Regions from separate parts of the Homo sapiens genome. Here region 1 is linked to region 2. The links are contacts of gene promoters, found by promoter capture Hi-C in blood cells and fetal thymus (Javierre and others, 2016). All regions are on one chromosome and are shown on one strand. Each heading gives the region's core, a stretch centred on a gene start or on the middle of the fragment in contact. The rest is flanking DNA. Distances are from core to core; before and after follow the strand shown. Region 1 overlaps HAUS5-DT (HAUS5 divergent transcript). Region 2 holds the start of TYROBP (transmembrane immune signaling adaptor TYROBP).

Evidence for each region. Contacts are between HindIII fragments. The CHiCAGO score rates a contact against its expected background, and 5 or more counts as called.
Region 1: a contact is called between a fragment that was not itself captured here and the fragment with the promoter of TYROBP in region 2, in 2 of 17 cell types (neutrophils and fetal thymus). The highest score is 6.0, in neutrophils.

What each region holds. Positions count from the first base shown.
Region 1 is chr19:35,605,298-35,609,377 of GRCh38, reverse strand. It overlaps HAUS5-DT (HAUS5 divergent transcript), which reads left to right. Exons shown (of 2, transcript NR_186318.1): 2 at 575-989. Among named protein-coding and RNA genes, the nearest start is that of HAUS5-DT, 5.3 kb to the left of the region's middle. The HindIII fragment of the contact is 3,634 bases long and covers 621-4,080 here.
Region 2 is chr19:35,905,771-35,909,935 of GRCh38, reverse strand. TYROBP (transmembrane immune signaling adaptor TYROBP) reads left to right here and starts at 1,641. Exons shown (of 5, transcript NM_003332.4): 1 at 1,641-1,768; 2 at 2,174-2,206; 3 at 2,356-2,490; 4 at 2,672-2,718. The coding sequence starts at 1,708. RefSeq lists enhancers at 125-234, 335-384, 535-664 and a silencer at 2,476-2,629. The HindIII fragment of the contact is 5,164 bases long and covers 1-2,891 here.

The sequences.
Region 1 (4,080 bases), core at 1,188-3,687, 300 kb after region 2:
CATGAGCCATTATACCTGGCCACTTTCTGCTTTTATTTATTTATTTTTTTTGTGACAGAGTCTCCCTCTGTCGCCCAGGCTGGAGTGCAGTGGCACAATCTCGGCTCACTGCAACCTCTACCTCTTGGGTTCAAGCAATTCTCTGCCTCAGCCTCCCAAGTAGCTAGGATTACAGGCATGCACCATCATACCCGGCTAATTTTTGTATTTTTAGTAGAGACGGGGTTTCACCATGTTGGCCAGGCTGGTCTCAAACTCCTGACCTCAAGTGATCCACTTGCCTCAGCCTCCCAAAGTGCTGGGATTACAGGTGTGAGCCACTGCACCTGGCCTCACTTTCTGCTTCTTATGCTCAATGTCTCCTTGTTTTGGAGACATGTCACCATTTGTCCTTTTCTTGGTTCCTTTCTCATGGTATCTGTTCTGTTGGCCTTGGTGGGAGGTACTGGTGCCTTCCTGCTTTCTTAGATCCTGAAGGAGCAGAGCCCCTGTGGCCTCTTGGTCTTCTTCTGTCAGCATCTCTCTCCCTTTGCTTTATCTGAAATCTCTTTTCTGTTTTTCTGGATAATTTCAGGATGCTTTTTGGAACCCATCCACCATCTGAGAGATAATAAGAAGCTTCTCTAGGACTTGTGATTTTGGTTTCAGCAGCTCCTTCCACGTTTGAGAAGAGTCTTCTCATTTCTTACTCATAGAACATCCCATCAGACATTTCTCCTGATCCACATAGTAATTCAGGGATCCAGGCTTCTTCCATAAGGTGATTCAACCATCTTCTATGGGCTCAGAGTCTTTTGAATCCAGGCAGAAGAGAGAATAAGGAACTCGCACCTGCTTCTTGAAAGTCTTCACCCTAAAGTGACATACATCACTTCTGCTCTCAGTCCATTGAACATAACTTGTCTTATGGCTTCAACTAGCTGCAAGGGCCTCTGGGAAATGTAGTCCTGGTCTAGGCAGTCAATAAACATCCTGCTGGCTCTGCCACAGAAGGCCTTTCTAAGATGTTCTTTGAGCTGAGACGTGAGAGCCAAAGTGTGAGAGCTACTTGAAAACTGTGAAAATGGAGTTCCCAAAGTGGGAACAGCAAGTGGAAAGACCCTGATGCTGGAATGTGCTCAAAGGAACAGTAAGAAATGAGCTTCTGGCTGGGCGTGATGGCTCATGCCTGTAATCCCAGCACTTTGGGAGGCTGAGGCAGGTGGATCACCTGAGGTTAGGAGTTTGAGACTAGCCTGACCAACATGGAGAAACCCCGTCTCTACTAAAAATACAAAAAAATCAGCCGGGTGTGGTGGTGCATGCCTGTAATCTCAGCTACTTGGGAGGCTGGGGCAGGAGAATCGCTTGAACCCAGGGGGCAGAGGTTGTTGTGAGCTGAGATCGTGCCATTGCACTCCAGCCTGGGCAACAAAAGTGAAACTCCGTCTCAAAAAAAAAAAAAAAAAGAACTTTTATTTTGTGAGCTACTGAAATGGTGGGGTTTATTTGTTATAGCAGCTAGCATGACTCTAAATAATATACCTTGTAGACATCATTGCCCACTAGCTCAGTGTATCTCAAACTACTTGTAACTATGGAGAAGGATCATTTGTTTGATGTTTCCAACCTGTCATGGACCAATCCTTTTGGTCTCTACCCTGTTCAACAAGAAAATCCATTGATCCTATACTTGGATGTCATGGATATGTCAAATTGCTGTGTTTCTAAACACTTGCTGGCAATTTCCGTACTTATCTGGTGGCACACCATTGCAGACACCAGCTCGGTTGGGGAGACCCTAACCCACTGGTGCTAGAGGAATTAAACACACACACACAGAAATATAGAGGTGTGAAGTGGGAAATCAGGGGTCTCACAGCCTTCAGAGCTGAGAGCCCCGAACAGAGATTTACCCACATATTTAGTAACAGCAAACCAGTCATTAGCATTGTTTCTATAGATATTAAATTAAAAGTATCCCTTATGGGAAACGAAGGGATGGGCCGAATTAAAGGAATAGGTTGGGCTAGTTAACTGCAGCAGGAACACGTCCTTAAGACACACATCGCTCATGCTATTGTTTGTGGCTTAAGAATGCCTTTAAGTGGTTTTCCACTCTGGGCGGGCCAGGTGTTCCTTGCCCTCATTCCCGTAAACCCACAACCTTCCAGCTTGGGCGTTAGGGCCATTATGAACATGTCACAGTGCTGTGGAGATTTTGTTTGTGGCCAGTCTTGGGGTCAGTTTATGGCCATATTTTGGGGGGCTTGCTCCCAACACCATAATAGTTGCTGGACCAGTCCTGGCACCACTTTAGCTTCTTATTCTGTTTTATTTTTCTCTATAGCATTTACCATTCCCTGTAATTATCTTGTTTATTTTTGGGTATACTTGTTTATAGTTTTCTTTCCCACTAGAATGTAAGCTCCATCAGAGAAGAAGTTGGCCTTACTTCTCTTGCTCCGTTGTGTTCCTCGTTCCCAAGACAATGCCTGGGACACAGTAGGTGCTCAGAAAGTATTTGTTAAATAATGAGTATTTGTTAAATAAAAATCATGGCTGGGAACAGTGGCTCACGCCTATAATCCCAGCACTTTGGGAGGCCAAGGCAGACAGATTGGTTGAGCTCAGGAGTTTGAGACCAGTCTGGGCAGCATGGCAAAACCCTGTCTCTACAAAAAATATAAAAATTTGCTGGGCATGGTGGCATGCACCTGTAGTCCTAGCTACTCAGGAGGCTGAGGCATGAGAATCACTTGAACCTGGGAGCCAGAAGTTGCAGTGAGCTGAGATTGTGCCACTGCATTCCAGTCTGGGTGACATAGTGTGACCCTGTCTCAAAAAAAAATTTAATAAAATGAAATAAAAATAACAAGGAGGGTGGGGGGAAGGAGGCAATCCATATCTGTTACAGAGGCTCTCTACAATCAGAACCTGACCAGAACTCTAACCAGTTTGTTAACAGCCATTGAGATCCCCTCAAGAGCTGTGGTTTTTTGATAGACCATGGTAGCTCAGATTAGATGTCAACTGAAGAATCATGAGGTTTTGATATGGTTTGGCTGTCCCCACCCAAATCTCATCTTGAATTGTAGTTCCCCAAATCCCCATGTGTTGTGGGAGGGACCTAGTGGGAGGTAATCGAATCATGGGGGTGGTTACCCCCATGCTGCTGTTCTTGAGATAGTGAGTTCTCACGAGATCTGATGGTTTTATAAGGGGCTTTTCCCTCTTTGCTTGGCACTTCTCCTTCCTGCTGCCATCTGAGGAAGGACGTTTTTGCTTTCTTTTCCACCATGATTTTAAGTTCCCTGAGGCCTCCCCAACCCTGCGGAACTGTGAGTCAATTAAACCTCTTTCCTTTATAAATTACCCAGTCTTGGGCAGTTCTTTTCAGCAGCGTGAGAACAGACTAATACAGGTTTACAAATTTGGAAAGGAGAGCTTTATTTCTCATAAAGAGTTGCAGCCTGCAGCCGGGCCATCTCACAGGCCGAGAAGTGTAGCCTCCGGTAGAAGCTGAGAGCAGGCACCTCCAGTAAGGGAAGGATAAGGTCAGAGTTAACGCTGAATGGCTTGGCTCAGTATACATATTCAACAGGTTATAGGAGGAGCTATGAATATTCATGAAGGGAAGGTACAGCACATGTGTAGTAACATCCCATATTCACTTTTTTTTTTTTTTTTTTTTTTTTTTGAGATGGAGTCTTACTCTGTCACCCAGGCTGTAGTGTAGTGGTGCGATCTCAGCTCACTGCAACCTCTCTTTCCCAGGGTTCAAGCAATTCTCCTGCCTCAGCCTCATGAGTAGCTGGGATTACAGGCACCCATCACCATGCCTGGCTAATTTTTTTATTTTTAGTAGAGACAGGGTTTCACCATGTTGGCCAGGCTGGTCTCAAACTCCTGACCTCAGGTGATCCGCCCACCTTGGCCTCCCAAAGTGCTGGGATTACAGGCGTGAGCCACCGTGCCAGGCCCCATGTTCACTTTGGAGTGGAGACTTAACACTTAAATGTATTACAATTAGGCCCTATACATCAAAAGGTGATGCAGAGGACACAAAGGCCCTTTGTGTGCAGCCTCTGTAGACTGGCC
Region 2 (4,165 bases), core at 392-2,891:
TCCAGTCCCTGCCTCCACAGTCTGCTCCCCACCTGCGGCCGGAGGGAACCTGTGAACCCCTGAGTCAGGTCAGGGCCCTCCTGGCTCAGAGCCCTGCTCTGGTCTCTGACTGCCCCCTCGCCCACTCTGCTCCAACACATTGGGTGGCCTGGTGTGCCCGGGAGGACCTACAGGGTCTGTTCCCTCCATGCTCGCTCTAGACACAATGGGAGAGGCTTGGGTTTTTAAGGGAGGGGACTCAGCCAGGCCTGAACAGTGGTGACCGTGGGCTGAGCTGGGACCTGACCCTCCTCCAGGCTCCAAATCTCCTCTCCTCCCTTCCCCCACAGGCCACTGGGCATCTGCCCTGTGACCAGAATCCAGTTTCCCCTTTTTTCTCCTAAGCCCAGGCCCAAGGAGCGGTGGGTGTGACGTGTGGATGGGGGAGGGGGGCTTCCTGCAGCTGTCTCATCCTCCAGCACCCTAACCTCAGGTTCCTCCTTCCCCAGCCCCAGGCTCCAGCTGGGGGCTAGAAGTCCCCGTCTCCTTGGGGTGGCCTCCCTTGGGCCTTGCTCCCAGCCACTTCCTCATTCAGCAGGAGAGCCAGCCACCTGCCTCTCCCCAAGCCGCCAGCCGTGCCTCTGTGTCTGTGCCACTGCCTTACTCTCACCTTTCTCAGCTTTGCCGCTGTTTTCTCCTTCCCCATCTTTCATCTTTGTTTTTCCCCCTGACTCTTCCCTAGTCAAAAACCTGATTTTGGGTCTTGGGTTCCATTTCCACCTTGATTTGCTGTGCAGCCTTAGGCAAGCGTCTCTACCTCTCTGAACAATGGGGATGATAAGAGCATGTGCCCTAGAAGGGCATTGCGGGGACTGAATGATTTAACGCTTGGGACAGAGTGCCTGCATGTCATTAGTGCCCACATGCTGCTGGCTCTTTTAATATCCTTTAAACAGCACAAGTTTCTGATGATTAAATAATCATCATCATAGCTGATGCTTTTAAAAAGCTGACAAGGGTCAGACCCTGGTCTAGGAACTTTAATTCATTTAATCCCCACAACTCTAAAAAGTAGGTCCCATTTTACTCCCAATTTTACAGATGAAGAAACTGAGGTTGGAGCTGGGTGCGGTGGCTCACACTTGCAATCCTAGCACTTCGGGAGGCCAAGGTGGGTGGATCACCTGAGGTCAGGAGTTTGAGACCAGCTGGCCAACATGGTGAAACCCTGTCTCTACTAAAAAAAAAAGAAAAAAAAATACAAAAAATTAGCCGGGCATGGTGGCAGGCGCCTATAATCCCAGCTACTTGGGAGGCTGAGGCAGGAGAATCACTTGAACCCGGGAGGCAGAGGTTGCAGTGAGCCGAGACCGTGCCATTGCACTCAAGGTTGACCAGCCAGGAAGAGGCAGAGCTGGTTTCAATCAGCCAGAGGAAGGTCATGACACTGACCCTCCTGTTAAAACGATGTCTGACCCCTGACTGGGGACGGAGGTGAAGTTTGTGCTTCACGTACCCTTTGCCCTTCACGTCTAGTTGCTGGGGGCCTGTGGCATGGCCCCTGGGTGTCTGGGCCTGATTCTTTCTTGGGTTTTGTTTCTGTCTCTCCTCCCCTGTCTCCTCCTCCCTTCTGCCACCACCCGCCTCAGACTTCCTCCTTCACTTGCCTGGACGCTGCGCCACATCCCACCGGCCCTTACACTGTGGTGTCCAGCAGCATCCGGCTTCATGGGGGGACTTGAACCCTGCAGCAGGCTCCTGCTCCTGCCTCTCCTGCTGGCTGTAAGTGGTGAGTTAGGGGCTTCCGTGGCTGCCTCCCGGGTCCCTGGGCTCAGCTTGGGGCAGGGCAGGGAGTGGGGTGGAACGAGAGAACCAAAAGTGGGTGTTGGGATGGGAGCAGGTCCCCAACCTCCCAAAGCCTGTGGGTTTCTCCCAGAGCCCAAGCCCCCAAGTTTTGTCGTCCGCTACAAGCAGGGGAGAAGAGACATCTAAGTGTGTTGCCACAGGACAAGTTGTGCAGAAGTAACGCACATAGTCCGGTGGCCCAGACGCCAGCCCCCTGAGTCCCGCCAGACACGCTCTCCCCCTTGCTAACCTCTTGGCTGTCAGGATCCACCTTCCCTGGCTTCTAAACTTGCCTCCCCCACCCCCGTCATAACTCTGTGCCTCAGTTTACCTTCTTTTTCCTCCTCAGGTCTCCGTCCTGTCCAGGCCCAGGCCCAGAGCGGTAGGCCTAGACCCAGCAGTCCCTCTCTCTACCTCCCAGAGACCTCCCTGTCTCCGTCTCTCCCACACCCTTTCCAAACCTCCCTGCCGCTGACCCCCCTCCCCACAGTTCCCAGCACACACTGACCTCCCCTGACCCCTGTGCTGCAGATTGCAGTTGCTCTACGGTGAGCCCGGGCGTGCTGGCAGGGATCGTGATGGGAGACCTGGTGCTGACAGTGCTCATTGCCCTGGCCGTGTACTTCCTGGGCCGGCTGGTCCCTCGGGGGCGAGGGGCTGCGGAGGGTGAGTGGGGCTAGCAGGGGACATCCTGAGGACTTGCCTAGATGGGGGTGGGGGGCTGGGTAAACTCCCAGATCTCAAACATCCAAAGGGATGGTAATGGAGGTGCTGATTTGGAATGACAAAACACCCTCAACTCACCACTCTGCCTGTCTCTGCACCCCACAACACCCCTCACCTCCAGCAGCGACCCGGAAACAGCGTATCACTGAGACCGAGTCGCCTTATCAGGTGAGAAAACCAGACTGTCCTCCTCACATTTCACTCCTGCCAGGGATATCTGCCCCAGATACTCCTTCATGCCATCAGAGGGACCTCAAAGCCACTCTGCCTAAAGCACCCCCAAACCTTGAAGGCACATGGGACATCTGTCCAAAACTGGGCCGAATGATCAACCACAAGCTTATGGTCAGCTTAAAATGTGTGAAGAGGGGCTGGGCACGGTGACTCAAACCTGTAATCCCAGCACTTTGGGAGACAGAGGCGGGTGGATCACTTGAGGTCAGGAGTTCGAGACCAACATGGTGAAACCCTGTCTCTACTAAAAATACAAAATTAGCTGGGCGTGGTAACGCATGCCTGTAATCCCAGCTACTTGGGAGGCTGAGGCAGGAGAATCCTTTGACCCAGGAGGCGGAGGTTGCAGTGAGCCAAGATCACGCAATTGCACTCCAGCCTGGGCAACAAGAGGAAAACTCTGTCAAAAAAAAAAAAGCGTGAAGAGTTAAAAAGAAAAAAAAAAGGGTGGCTTTGCCTTTGTAAGTGTAAACACAGGCCTTGCCAGAAGTCAGGCCAGGAATTTTCTGGAAGAAACCCAGCCCTAGGACGACTGATTTCTGGGAGACGCTCTCAGTAGGGCAGAGAATGTCATTCAGCCCTACCTTGGTAACTCTAAAGAGAGGAGTCCTAGAATCTCTTTTTTGGGTTTGAGGACCCTTCATCCCTTTGAGAAACTAAGAAAATCTAGACTCCCAGAAAAATCTACACAAAAAATACAAAATTGTGCATATAATCTGAGAGCAGTGTAAATGTTCTTTATAATTAAAAAAAATTTTTTTTTGGCCAGGCATGGTGGCACACACCTGTAATCCCAGCACTTTGGGAGGCCAAGGTGGGTGGATCACGAGGTCAGGAGTTCAAGACCAGCCAGGCCAGGATGGTGAAACCCCATCTCTACTAAAAATACAAAAATTAGCTGGGCATGGTGTCATGCGCCTGTAATTCCAGCTTCTCAGGAGGCTGAGGCAAGAGAATCGCTTGAACCCAGGGGGCGGAGGTTGCAGTGAGCCTGGGCGACAGAGTGAGACTCCATCTCAAAAAAAAAAAAAAGACAGGGGTCTCACTATGTTGCCCCAGCTGGTCTCAAACTCCCAGTCTCAAGTGATCCTCCCGCCTCAGCCTCCGAAAATCTTGGGATTACAGGCTCAAGCAACCATGCTGGTTGAGTATTCTTGAAGCTCTTTTTTCTTTCTCTACTTTAATTTTTTTTTTTTTTTGAGATGGAGTCTCATTCTGTCACCCAGGCTGGAGTGCAATGGTGTGGTCTCAGCTCACTGCAACCTCCACCTCCCAGGTTCAAGCGATTCTCTTGCCTGAGCCTCCCGAGTAGCTGGAACTACAGGTGCATGCCACCACACCCGGCTAATTTTTGTATTTTTAGTAGAGATGGGGTTTCACT